5 separate regions of the Homo sapiens genome follow, and all the other regions are linked to region 3. Evidence: promoter capture Hi-C in 16 types of primary human blood cells and fetal thymus (Javierre and others, 2016). All regions are on one chromosome and are shown on one strand. Each heading gives the region's core, a stretch centred on a gene start or on the middle of the fragment in contact. The rest is flanking DNA. Distances are from core to core; before and after follow the strand shown.

Region 1 (2,700 bases), core at 133-2,632, 260 kb before region 3:
TGAGGTCTGGGAGCACCCTCCCCAAAGAATCCCTGATCTCCCCAAATTTGGTGAAGAACTAAAGTTCATTTTGCTGTACAACTGCCCCACCTATTTTTGTTTTTGGAGTTTTACTTGCTTACTTGCCTTCCTTATAAGGAAGGCAAGATTTACTTTTACTTCCTTTACAAGGAAGGCAAGATTTCCTGCTTCCATGATGATGAAAGGCATGTAGAGTTTGAGCTCACTCCCAGCAGGGAAGACCAGTTTGAGTTTTTTTCCTGCTTCTAGGGTGGTAGAAAGCAGCCTTCAGCCTGAGACCCATCCCTAGGTAAGTAGCTGAACTGGGGCTTTGTCTGGGCTAAAGTTTAACAACCAGCTAGCTGCTCTTAATTTCTCCTTATCATTAGAGTGCTTGGTAATCCTATGGTTGGAGATTTTGTTGTTTGTTTTGGTCTTTCTCCCATCAGACTTGACCAACTCTACCTGACTTGGTCAAATCCAAGTGAGAATTCAAAATTACGGGTAACAAAACCTCTCTAATTTGGCTAAAATTCATTGCAGCTGCAAAAGAAGAAAACAAACAAAAAGAACCAAAAACCCATGCACTTGGTTTCTGTGTTTGCTTCCTGTCTTAAAACACGAATGTTCTTTCGTTTACTTTTCTTGCACCATATACCTCCTCCCCCTTTGCCATATGCAGTACCAAAAAGTCTAGAGAAGGCTTCTAATGACTTGAACCCCCTTAAAGAATTCAGAACAAAGGTTGCCACTCACCCCTTTTGGGGTGTTTTGTTTTCTTTGTGGAGTTTCAAGAGTCATGGGTAGATTCTTCTTAACTCTAAACCTCTATTTTCCTGTATTGCATGACCTGACCTCTTTGGCTTTGACCTTGTTGTGTATAGTGGTAGATGAGAGCTACAAAGTTAAGGGGTGGCTGAGCAAGGTTTACAAAAAGTGGTCTTGGCTGTTGTTTTGTTTTCCTTCTAGGAATTTGTCGTTTAAAGATCCTAATTCTAGTTCACAAATGCATTCTAAAGGATCTTCTCTGTTGCTTTTTCTCCCCAAATTAAGCTCAATTCAGCTTGTCTGTGTGCATTTGCATGAGGAACTGAACTGTTGTTTTCAGTGGTGACCCACTGTGGAGTCCTGCCCACAAATGGCACATATTGATCCACCACAGAAAACCTCTAGGCCTCAGCTCAGTTCCTCTTTTTAAGAAGAAAACTGGGAAACAAATAATCTAAGAATGAGGAGAAAGCAAAGAGAATGATTCCCTTTCAAGCACTCCATAGGTTTTATGGCACCTGTACTTGCCAGAGTTTAAGTAAAATGGAAGTAATATGGTCTTTGTGCATATTTACATTAAGAAAGAAAGGGCCCATGTAAATTAGTTCAACCATTGTGGAAGACAGTATGGTGATTCCTCAAGGATCTAGAATCAGAAATACCATTTGATCCAGCAATCCCATTACTTGTTATATACCCAAAGGAATACAAATCATTCTACTATAAAGACACAGGCACATGTATGTTTATTGCAGCACTATTTACAAGAGCAAAGACATGGAACTAACCCAAACGCCCATCAATTATAGACTTGATAAAGAAAATGTGGTACATATACACCATGGAATACGATGCAGCCATAAAACGGAGTGAGATCATGTCCTTTGTAGGGACATGGATGAAGCTGGAAACCATCATCCTCAGCAAACTAACACAGAAACAGAATACCAAATACAACATGTTCTCACTCATATATGGGAGTTGAACTTTGAGAACACATGGACACAGAGAGGAGAGCAACACATATCAGGGGCTGTTGGGGGGTGGGGAATGAGAGGAGGGAATTTAGAGGATGGGTCAATAGGTGCAGCAAACCACCAAGGCACACATATACCTATGTAACAAACCTGCACGTTCTCCTGCATGTGTATTTCATTTTTTTTTAGAAGAGAAAGAAAAGAAGGAAAGAAAGCAAGCAAGCAAGAAAGCAAGCAAGCAAGAAAGAAAGAAAGAAAGAAAGAAAGAAAGAAAGAAAGAAAGAAAGAAAGAAAGAAAGAAAAGAAAAAGAAAGAAAAGAAGAGCCTTAAGGTCAACCTACAAACTACAGAGTTCCTAAGTTCTCTTTTTTCTCTATTTTCTTTTCTGCCTGCTTTAAATCTGCTGTTATTTTTCTATTAAGATCAAAACCACTGTTTGGATACAACAGGCTTTTTGTTTGCAACCTGGTGAATTTGTATTTGTCTCATGGCTAAAGTTCTGAAGTAAAAGCTATAGGATTTCTGTGTGTGTGTTTGTGTGTGTGTGTGTGTGTGTGTGTGTATCTATTTAAAAGGCCTTTATAATTTTTATAATTTTATGTTTAATTGGCAATTAAATCCATTTTGACTTCCCTCTAGCACCACCAGACTTTTTCTCTCTGTACCTTATGATATAATTTTGCTATTTGATTTTTGCCTGAGTTGTTTCCTTTAACATGCAAACTTAAGGCTATTTAGCTGACAACTCCCTAGGGGAGTAAAACAGGTTATTAAGAATTTGAAAGCCTAAGATAGGGGAAAAAAGCTCCTTAAGTATCTATACGATGTACTTCTATCAGCATGCCTACTATGTCTATATATTTATGTGATGTGTACACAATTTCTCGCTACTGAAAATATATAAAAGAGTTCTAATTAATTGGCTTAAGATAAAAAGCACTTGAATCTAATACTT
Region 2 (2,700 bases), core at 120-2,619, 310 kb before region 3:
GGAATCAACCTAAATACCCATCAAGGGTGGACTGGATAAAGAAAATGTGGTACACATACACCATGGAATACTATACAGCCATAAAAAAGGAAATTATGTCCTTTGTAGCAATGTGGATGAAGCTGGAGGCCATTATCCTAAGCAAACTAACACAGATACAGAAAACCAAATACGGCATGTTCTCACTTATAAGTGGTAGCTAAACATTGAGTACATATGGACACAAATAAGGGAACAACAGATACTGAAGCTTACTTGAGGGCAGATGGTGGGAAGAGGGTGAGGATAAAAAAACCATCTATCTGTTACTATGCTTTTGTTTAATTAAATTAATTAATTAATTAAGTTTTGAGACAGAGTCTCACTCTGTCACCCAGGCAGGAGTGCAGTGGCGCAACCTTGTCTCACCAAAGCCTCTGCCTCCCAGGTTCAAGCGATTCTCCTGATTCAGCCTCCTGAGTAGCTTGGATTACAGGCGCATGCCACCATGCCCAGCTACTTTTTGTATTTTTAGTAGAGACAGGGTTTCACCATGTTGGCCAGGATGGTCTTGAATTCCTGGCCTCAAGTGACCTACCCATCTCAGCCTCCCAAAGTGCTGGGATTTCAGGCTTGAGCCACTGCACCTGGCCATCTGTTACTATGCTTATTACCTGGGTGATGAAATAATCTGTATACCAAAACCCTGTGACACACAATTTACCTATATAACAAACGTGCACATGTACCCCTGAACTTGAAATAAATTTAAATTAAAAAGACTAAAGACCCCTGCCCTCACAAAGCTTCCCTTGCCTCACTTCTCTCAATGGGCAGGTAGATATGCCCAGGAATACATGCTGAACAATCAAAGAAATCTCTTTTCTATCACATGCTAGGAACTAAAAAGATATTTATCAGGAAAATGATAGTGGTTAGCCTTCCTTACCAACATACAAGTATTTAACAAAATCAAAAATATATGCAGTATGGATTAATGTTATCAGCATTTCAACCGCATTGCAGTTGTTTAAATGGTTAAGATGTATGCGGAGCTCAAAACTAGGATGATTACAACCAAGGCTTCATTTCTCCCTGTCTTCTCAGCAGCAGCCACTCCACTGGAAGTAGAACTGGCCATGGTGGTGCTGACGGGAACCATGGAGAAGATGGGATAGTGGTTCCTCCAGCATAGGATGTTCAGTGGCTAGGGATTCCCAGGTCTTGTTTGACATCAATTACCGTACAGTTTCCTACATTGGTGAACAAATAGGGCTATAACTTAGCTTAGACTTCCTCCCCCTTATCATGTGTGTGAATTATTCATAAGTCAAGTTTATGTTTACAGAGACCTACTGTAGTCTCACCATTTCGTCAGCATCACCATAAAACCTGCGACTCGAAATATGAAGGTGAATCATGAGATGATCAGATTTATTTGAAATGCTATTAAAATTATAGACCTTCCACCTGAGTTGTTCCTATTCTAAAGCTCAAAAATGGCCCTTAGAAAATCTCTCCTTTCGTTCTTCTGGTTCTGCATGCTGTAATGTAAGCTAAATATGAGCTTTTGAAGAGCAATAAACAATAAATAAAAAGAAATGTTTGCTTCCCCAGAAATATAATTTTATTTTTTTTTACAGTGCAAAAATACAGCATACAAATAGTATTATCCTGGAAGAAAAAAATCTCATCTGAGAACCTTGAAACAGTAGAAAAAAGGGTGATGAGTCAGTGGGACAGAGTTCTATTCAAGAGGAGCTTTGATTTTTATTTACTCGTTTTTTTTTTCAAGCCAGGAATTCGAATGATGAAAGCTGGAATTTTTCTCAAGATTGTCAGAGAGGGCCAGGATTAGCTGCATAATTATGTGGGGAAATAGATAGGATGTTATTGTTGAATTCGTGCTTGAGGATCAGCTAGGCTGCAAAGGTGGAGTCTCTCATCTGATCCAGAAGGGGTAGAAGAGTCTGCACAAGCTTCTGTGCACCTGGGAATGTTTCGTGCGTTGAGAGGAGAGGTGGGGTCTCAGCAGGAGGAGGTCCTGCAGGTGGTGCTGCAAGGGGTCGGCTGGCCGCAGGGAGGCCGGCAGCAGGGGGACTGCACAGACACAGGCTGGCAGCAGGTGGTGGCCCAGCAGCAGGGCCTGCACACCACAGCCGTGCACGACGAGGGGCAGCAGGTGATGGGGCGGCAGCAGCCTTCCTGCAGGGAGCAGGGGTCGCAGCACACCGGGCGGCGGCAGGGCTCGCAGATGGGGCGCGTGCAGCGGGGCACGCAGGTCACGGGGCGGCACACGGTGGTCTGGCAGGTCACGGGGCGGCAGCAGCAGGGGTCGCGGCAGCAGCAGGGCTGGCAGCAGCCTCCCCCGTAGCTCAGGGAGGACAAGGTGGAGCCGCAGCAGGAGCCGGTCATGGTGGTGTCTGAGGCTGGTGTGGGTTGGGCTGTTGAGAGGAGCTGGATGTTCTCAGGTGTGAATGTCCTCGTTCCACTCTGGGCCCTTTATATATCCTAGCTGGATGCTGATGACCCCCAGGACATGAGGTCATTTCCTGGAGTTGTAGCTGCCCGTTGAAATGAGAACTCTGGATTTAACTGCTGAGGCAGCGATCCCTAAATCACTAAAGAATGCTTTGTTTTCTACCTGTCTACTTTTTCCCTAGAACGGAATACCTGGTCATGTATATCATCAGAACAATTGCTCATCTATCAGCTAGTCCT
Region 3 (2,700 bases), core at 126-2,625:
ATGCCCTCACCCACTAGCAAGACCCCTTGTGTAACCCACATACTTAATCAATAACACTTCTTATGACCTTTGTGTGATCATTTTGTTTCCACATCTATCTCCCCTGTTAGACTGTGAGCTCCTGAAGGAAGGAGACTGTCTTACTCAGTACATTATCCCCCACCCCAGCACTGTGCCTAACACTCTCCAACTCTGGGTAAATAAATGAATGATATTCAAATAGCACAACCCCTTTCTGGCATCTAATTTTCCAGATCTACAGAACAGTGGGCAGTCAATTCCCTCCCAGAATCAAGGGCTTGTACAATTGGATATAAACTCCCACTCATCCTTCAAACCCCACTCAGACATTGCCTCTTCTGGGATCCCTCCCAAACCTACACCAGGTATTCAGTCCCAATTCTCTGTGGACTCTTTACTTATATCTACTTCTCTTCCAGAACAGATGGCCCCATATTGTCATCTGTACACATGGCTGCTCTAGAGGATGGTCCATGTGTCTGTAGATATTGCTGGAGTCAACAGCTCTCTTGTGTTGCCATAAATGCTATATTTTGCTACAGCTTTGAAAGGCTTTAAATATTTGAAGATTTACTTAGGAAATTCTTAGCATAGAAAATAATTCAGGTGCATACTTTTTGAAAATGCGGTAATGCTCTGAAAACAAAACCAGGGTATCATAATCAAACCAAAAAATCAGATATTCTGGTTTGGAGTAAGACGCCATATAAGATTGCTATGACTGATTTTGGTCTAATGCTTCACTCTAACACCAGCCTGCATCCTTCCTTTGTGGCTCTACAACAGATTTTCTAAGACTACTTGATGTCATACCTAAGCCAGTGAATCTATGTCTTTATCATTCTCAGCATTACTGTGAACAGACTTAGATCCATTCACAGTTTAGTATGTCAAATATAGATAAGTAGTTCATTAAGCTGGCAGTGTGGTGCCCACCTCCTCACCTTCTGCTGGAGCTCCTCAATGGTCTTGAAGTAGGACTGGTAGCTGGGGCACAGCAAGGGCTCCTGCTGCTGAGACCGCTCCCGGATGAGGTTCTCCAGCTCCGCGTTGTCCCGCTCCAGCTGACGCACCTTCTCCAGGTAGCTGGCCAGGCGGTCGTTCAGGAACTGCATAGTCTCCTTCTCGCTGCCATTGAAGGAGCCCTCGCAGAACCAGTTGCAGTTGCTCACATTGGCAGGGATGTTGCAGGCCCCGGGCAGGGTGTAGCCGTGGCAGCTGGGGGGCACACAGGGCCGGGAGGAGCAGCTGGTGCGGCAGCTCAGGCTGGGCAGGCAGAAGTTGTAGGGCATGGTGCAGGGAGGCAGTGGAGCTCTGGAAGTCAGTTTCAAAACCTGATTCCTTTTCCCTGGGATAAGCCTTGGTCCTTTCCAGGGCTTTATATTCTGTTAGCAGTGGGTGTGGCAACCATGTCAAGTATTCCTCCTTTTTACCTCCTTTGCTGATTTTTCCATTTGTTATTTAGCCACTTCACCTGAGTCCTATACCTCATTAAATGTTTTACTCTGGCTTCTTGCTAAGTCAGGACTCCTCACAAAACATGCTGATTGGTTAAGTAAGAGCTTCATGGTTTGGCTTCAAAGTGACCAACCTTGCCTGTAGCAGTGCTTATCCATGGGACATTGAGCTAGAGTGACAGCTGGGCCCTGTCCCCAGAGTAGGGGGCACATATGTGCCTCTTTCTCCTAAATGAGGAAAGGCTTGTGTCTCATCCAGTTCATATTCAATTAAGACTCTGTGAGAAAAGCCATGTAAGGAAACCCGTCTAGAAACTAGACTATGTGATAGGGAATCCTGGAAGCTGAAATGAGAAAGGACTTACAAGGCCATTGGTTCAAGGCCCATTTGCAGTTCCATCCAGGCAGATGGAGGCAACTCTACCCTCTTCCTATGGGGCTGCAGGAAGCCACCCACCTCCGTTTCTACTAGTATTCAGTGTTCACAGAACATTAAGAAACCTAAATTTTGGGAGCACCTACTCTGCATGAAGCACTGTGCTCCATGCCTGTGCACAGCGTGACTCTGTCATTGGTGATGGGTCCTGCTTGCTGAGCCTCCACTGTGCACCAGGCACAGTGCCAGGCACCTCATATGCACCAGCTCCTTCAGTCCTCTCAAAATGCTGCAAGGGTTTGTAGATAAGGACCCTAAGCCTCTGAGAGGTCTCCCAAGGTCACAGAGCTCCTACATGATGGAGCCAGGGTTCAAATACAGATCTCTCTAATTCCAATGTCCACACTCTGTCATATTACATGTCTCTCTCTTCCAATCTTTTCAGTACTGAGATGCAATAATGCAAAAAATACAGATTGAGCTCCATTGAGCTCAATCAGTGCTGACAATATCCTAAATTAGAATGGGCCAAAAAATAACAAGCCTGTTTTTTACTTATTAAAGAACCAAAAGTCACTTCTATGCTGAAGGAAGGAAGTTTACTAAGTGAAAATGCCTCATACCCACTAGAAGCTTGAAAAAAAAAAAAAAAGGAAACCCTTGGTTGATCTGAGGGAGAAATACCCAAGCCTAGCTCTCCAAAGGATATGACCCTGAAAATCCACCACTATGTCATGTGCATGAAGTGGCATTTTATGACCATTGGCACATTTTGGCAAGCAGATGCTCTACTCTCATGCATTCCAGATGGAACTATGAAATATGAGGATTTTATGTTTAATCTAT
Region 4 (2,700 bases), core at 2-2,501, 290 kb before region 3:
AGGGAAGGAAGGAAGAGAAGGAAGGAAGAAGGGAAGGAAGGAAGAAGGGAAGGAAGGAAGAAGGGAAGGAAGGAGGGAGGAAGGAAGGAAAGAAGAGAGGGAGGAAGGAAAGGAGAGAAAGAAAGAGAAAGAGGAAGGAAGGAAAAGAAAGAAAGACAAGGAAGAAAAAGAAAGGAAGGAAGACAGGAAGAAAGGGAAATAGAGAAAGAGGAAGGGAGGGAGGGAAGGAAAGAAGAAGGAAGGAAGGAAATACAAGGGAGAAAACTATCAAAGAAATAGTATAAGAAAATTTCTTTCAGAAGGGAGCTCCAGATTAAAAGACCACCAGCGCTGAGAACAGTGAATGTAAGGCTTACATCAAGATACATCACTGTGAAATCTCAGAATATTAGGGATATGAAAATGGTACTGAAAGCGTCCAATGAGGAAAATAATATGTGGTTCCCATACCAAGGTTCAGGAGGCGAAATGGCATCACACTTTTCAACATCAACACCGGAAGCCAGAAGACAATGGGAAATGCCTTAAAATTTCTCAGTGGGATGTTTTTTAGCCTAGAATTCCATGCCTGGCCAAACTACCAAACAGAAACAAAGGAATAGTAACATTTTCAGATATGAAAAGCCCAAAAAAATCCTTATTGTCCGTGAACCCTTTCTAAAGTAACGTCTGGAGGATGTGCACCACCAACATGAAGAAGAAGTTGACAAAGAGGAGAACACAGATTCAGAAAACAGGAATTTCAAGTCGGAAAATCAGAATTGCATTCAAGATAAATCCAAAAATGGCAACCGTACAGCAAGCCTAGAAAGCAATCAGTGCAGAGGAGAACAGTAAGATGAAGATTTTGGAGGGAGAACTCTAGGAAAAAAGATCTTTCTAAATGGTGTGGTTACAGTACTATTTCTTGACTTTTAAAGTTTAGATATTATCTATTGGCCCACTGTTATGTGTGATGAGAATTTAGCTCTTACATCCCTCTCTATCCAACAGCCACCATTCTTCCTCTCCCTTTGTGTTCCAACTTCCCAATTGACCTGAGAATTCTAAATTACTGTCAAATGTAGTCTTTGAAAAGGTGCTCAACGTCACTAATCATCAGGGAAGTGATAATGAAAACCACAATAAGATATTACCTCATGCCTGTTAGGATGGCTGTTATCAAAAAGTCAAAAGATAAGTGTTGGCAAGGATGTGGTGTAAAGGGAACTCTTATACATTGTTGGTGGGAATGTAACTTGATGCAGCCATTATGGAAAACAGTATGGAGGCTCCTCAAAAAATTAAAAATAGAACTCACCTGTGAACCAGCAATTCCACTTCTGGATACATATCCAAAGTAAATAAAATCACTATCTTGAAGATATCTGCACTTGTATGTACATTGCAGCATTATTCACAGCTACTAAGATACAGAAATATCTATATGCCCATCCACAGATGAGTGGATAAAGAAAATGTATATAAATGTCATTATTCAAAATGCAATTCAGCCTTTAAAAGGAAGAAAATCCTGTCATTTATAACAACATGGATGAACCCAGAGGACATTAAGCTAAGTGAAATAAGCTAGACACACAAAGACCGATACTGCATGATCTGACTTATATGGTGGTTGCATGGGGTGGAATGAGGAAGAAACGGGTAGACGTTGGTCAAAGAGTATAAAGTTTCAGCTATCCAAAATCAGTAAGTTCTGGAAATTGAATGTATGGCAATGTGACTATAGTTAACAATACTGTATTGTACACTTGAAATTTGCTAGAACATAAGTATTTTCACCACAAAAAGAATAACTATGTGAGGTGATTGATATGTTAATTAGTTTGATTGTGGTCATCTATTTCACAATGTATATGTATATCAAAACATTATTTTGTACACCTTGAATATATGCAATTTTTACTTGTCAATTATATCTCCAAAGAGCTTTCAAAAAGCTAACAATAAATTCAACAATATGAAACACATGAGAAACATGCTGCCAGGATCTTAGAAGAGGGCAACTTAAGGGAGAGGTGGCTTGGGCAGAGAGCATCAGGAAAGGTTTGCTTGTGGAGGTAATAGCACCTAAGTCTTAAAGAACAAGTAGAATGGAGGTTCCTGCATAGTCTGTAGAACAGAATGAGAGAGTTCTCACCATTGTTGAATAGATAAGTGAATGATGATCTATAGCTGTATAGGACTCCTAATTTCCGATTATATCAAACCCAACAAAGACCTTCCAAAAGAACATTTCTGACCAATATAAAGCTCATCTGCGCACATGGACCTGCTATTGTGATCCCACCTGTGAGTCACACAGGGCTCTTCAAGGCCCTAAGCCAATCCCTACATGACCCTGTGAATATTCTGAACATTGAAGACTGTGGCATTAGTGATTCACTTTTGCTCTATTCTATTCTATTGGCATTATGTATTCCTAGGAGTATTGTGTGTTGGGGCAATAATTCATTACTTGACTAACATATTACCTGAAATTCTGATGATCAGGTTACATCATAGAAAAGAATTAGGACAATGTCCTGAATATCTCCTACGCTTCCTAAATTTCTTGCTATAATTGATCATCATACAACAAAATCTTATTAATTTGGGACATGTGCAGGCTAATTTTCCCTGGCCTGTACCGAGGGAAAATTGGCATCTTCCACAAAATTCATGGACAAATTGGGAAGGTAAATGTAATTACAGAAGATA
Region 5 (2,700 bases), core at 143-2,642, 350 kb before region 3:
ACATGGTGTACTCTTAAATATCTGAGAATTTACTGGGATTCGCAGGGTACACAGGGCTTGAATGCAAGGCAGAGGAGTAGGAAGGCATTCCAGCTATAGGGAACAGCAGCAGTAAATGCATAGAAGTGGAAAAGAACAAATGGTTGTTAGGAAGCCATGAATAGTGCGCTGTGTCTAGAGAACAATTGTGTGAGATAAAAGCAAGATGTAGAGTCTTGACCCCAGGATGAGGTGTTTGAACTTGAATTAAGTAGACCCATGGAGAACCACTGGTATATATTTTTCTAAGGCAGGAAGTTACCTCTTTAACTCCGTCATTTGTAAATATGGCTAATGTTACTATCACATTGATAGGATGTTTAAAGAATAAATTAAAGAAAGCATTAAAATGTGCAATGCAGTGCCTGGAACATAGTAAGTCCTCAATAAATGATTCTAATAGGTGTGATTGTTGTTACTAAATAAGCAGAGGGAGGCTGGAGCTTTTTTCTTCCCCGTCATTTTCAGGTATTCTTTCTCTCCGACGATAGGGAATCTAGGGCTAAATTTGGGAGTTTAGCTTTTAGGTTTCCCACGCCTGGAAAGCCTGCCTGTTGATAGTCTTCATTATAGTTTTTGTAACCAGTGAAGACCCCGCCTCCAAAAAGCAAACTGTGCCCCTCGACCTTGCTTTGCTGGAACCCTGTGAGATCACTGGTAAGCAGTGTGCACTCCTCATGTCCCCTCTACCACGTTGCCTTTTTCAGGAGGCAGTCATCACAAACGCCTAGCAGGATTTATTACTCAGAGGGGACTGAAGAAATGCTCTAGCTGCTTGAGCGTGACTTCTTCCTCATTCTTTCTTATTACTATCTGTGATTTACATGAAGTGACACAATTTATATTTTGATACAGTTAAAAATTTCCTCTGTAGAATAAGATGTATTGCAACAGCTTGTAATTATAGCCGGTCAGTTTTCCTGAGTGGAAATTTGACATCTGAGTCCATTGGGATGAAAAGAGCAGAAAGGAGGAAGATAACATGAGATAAACGTTCCCACTAATATTGTGTGTTTTGATTTTCGAGAGTACACCACGCTCAGTGCTGGAGGTGAAGATTTGGAAGGCTCCAACATATAGATGAAAACTGTGCTTACTATGAAGCGCTTGGACTGAGAATGAGATGACCATTTTTATGTGATCCATTTTATTCAAATGGAATACAACATCACCCTGAGCAATGCTCTTCCTATTTTTAAAGCTATTTTCCACACATGACTATCTGGCTCATGCTATCCTCTCCATAGCCAAAAGGGCTTTCTGCTCCTGAAGACATACACTTGAGTGGAGAAGAGGAATAGAAAATAAAATTTCTGGAGCACCTACTATATGCCAGGCATATTACTATTAATAACCTTATTTGTTATTCACAGCAATACTGTGACATATTAGAACCCCCATTTGATATAGAAGACAAAAACTGAGCTTCTGAGAAGACTTGTCTAAGGTCACAGTCAGTGAGTGAGTAGAGTTGGGATTTTAAACTCAGGTCTTCTGATTCCTTTCTCATCCCACTCTCTGCCCCTTCCTACAGTTAAAAACATCTTCAGAGTGATTAAAGTGTCAACCTATACTCAAATACAATAGCAGTCCCCATTCTTTTTGACACCAGGGACCGGTTTCATGGAGGACAATTTTTCCATGGACTGTGGGTGGGATGAAGGTGGGATGGTTTTGGGATGAAACTGTCCCACCTCAGACAGATTCTCACAAGGAACGTGCAACCTTGATCCCTCGCACGTGCGGTTCACAATAGGCTTTGCGCTTCTGTGAGAATCTAATGCCACCGCCGATCTGCTGAGCTGACAGGAGGCAAAGCTCAGGTGGGAACACTTGCTCCTCGGCTGCTCACCTCCTGCCATGTGATCCAGTTCCTAACAGGCCAGGGACAGGTATCGCTCTGCAACCCGGGGCTTGGGGACCCCTGAGAAACAACATAACAAGTTTGTTTTGCTTAGTACACGTTAACACACAAAACAAGTGTTTTGTATGACTTCTAGTCTCAGCTTCTGGTTCCCTCTAACTACTATCCCTGGCTTTTGTGCAGTTCTCTTTCTGTTTGGTCCCTTCTGATCACTAAACCAACAAGCGTTGGAGTAAAGGGCAAAAATGTTAACCTCAGAGTTTCCTGAATTCTATCTCTAGGATTCTATTGTTTTGTCTCCCTCAACCTCTCCTGAATAGAGAACGTTGAATTTCCTTCTGTTCAGAGTTTTTTGTGGCTGTTGCTGTCAACCTCTGCCATCTCTAACTCTTCTCAAACTTCCTCATGCTTCCTGGCTTCAGTTGCTCTGAAAATCCTGAGTTCTTTCCCTTCTTCCTACCGTAAGGTTATCAGCCCACTAGGATCTTTTTTTTCCAGGGTCACAGGTGTCATCTTTTGAACAAGTCAGTACTGTCTTAGAGATAACATAATTGTAGTTCTTTACTCTGGCCCCATTTGGACCAAGATTTCTCTGATCCTTTTGGGAAAATATCTCGTTTGTTTCATTCATGCAACTAAAATAAATAAGATATTAAAAAATTGAGAAAATAAAAGTCGAAATTTTGTATGTTAAATATTAACCCATTAAAAGCCAGGAATTTTGATTTTCATGTTGTGTATTCTACCACTCCTGTTTCTCTATCCCATATTTGTAATGCAAGAACAAAGAAGAAAAA

Evidence for each region. Contacts are between HindIII fragments. The CHiCAGO score rates a contact against its expected background, and 5 or more counts as called.
Region 1: a contact is called between a fragment that was not itself captured here and the fragment with the promoter of KRT33B in region 3, in 3 of 17 cell types (non-activated CD4 T cells, total CD8 T cells and naive CD4 T cells). The highest score is 5.2, in non-activated CD4 T cells.
Region 2: a fragment that was not itself captured here is called in contact with the fragment with the promoter of KRT33B in region 3 in 2 of 17 cell types (naive CD8 T cells and total CD4 T cells); the score reaches 5.1 in naive CD8 T cells.
Region 4: a contact is called between a fragment that was not itself captured here and the fragment with the promoter of KRT33B in region 3, in 1 of 17 cell types (activated CD4 T cells). The highest score is 5.6, in activated CD4 T cells.
Region 5: a contact is called between a fragment that was not itself captured here and the fragment with the promoter of KRT33B in region 3, in 6 of 17 cell types (total B cells, naive B cells, fetal thymus and 3 more). The highest score is 7.0, in total B cells.

Annotation. Positions count from the first base shown.
Region 1 is chr17:41,108,070-41,110,769 of GRCh38, forward strand. It overlaps LOC124904002 (a long non-coding RNA gene), which reads left to right and starts at 163. Exons shown (of 2, transcript XR_007065754.1): 1 at 163-310; 2 at 1,935-2,700. The HindIII fragment of the contact is 4,149 bases long and covers 1-2,700 here.
Region 2 is chr17:41,057,657-41,060,356 of GRCh38, forward strand. KRTAP2-3 (keratin associated protein 2-3) reads right to left here and starts at 2,458. Exons shown (of 1, transcript NM_001165252.2): 1 at 1,584-2,458. The coding sequence starts at 2,394. The coding sequence ends at 2,008. RefSeq lists enhancers at 1,628-2,202, 2,203-2,700. The HindIII fragment of the contact is 1,173 bases long and covers 784-1,956 here.
Region 3 is chr17:41,368,438-41,371,137 of GRCh38, forward strand. It overlaps KRT33B (keratin 33B), which reads right to left and starts at 1,376. Exons shown (of 7, transcript NM_002279.5): 1 at 966-1,376. The coding sequence starts at 1,313. The HindIII fragment of the contact is 2,505 bases long and covers 1-2,485 here.
Region 4 is chr17:41,076,875-41,079,574 of GRCh38, forward strand. No RefSeq gene overlaps it. Among named protein-coding and RNA genes, the nearest start is that of KRTAP4-7, 5.9 kb to the right of the region's middle. The HindIII fragment of the contact is 3,521 bases long and covers 1-2,700 here.
Region 5 is chr17:41,014,899-41,017,598 of GRCh38, forward strand. No RefSeq gene overlaps it. Among named protein-coding and RNA genes, the nearest start is that of KRTAP3-1, 7.1 kb to the left of the region's middle. The HindIII fragment of the contact is 4,126 bases long and covers 1-2,700 here.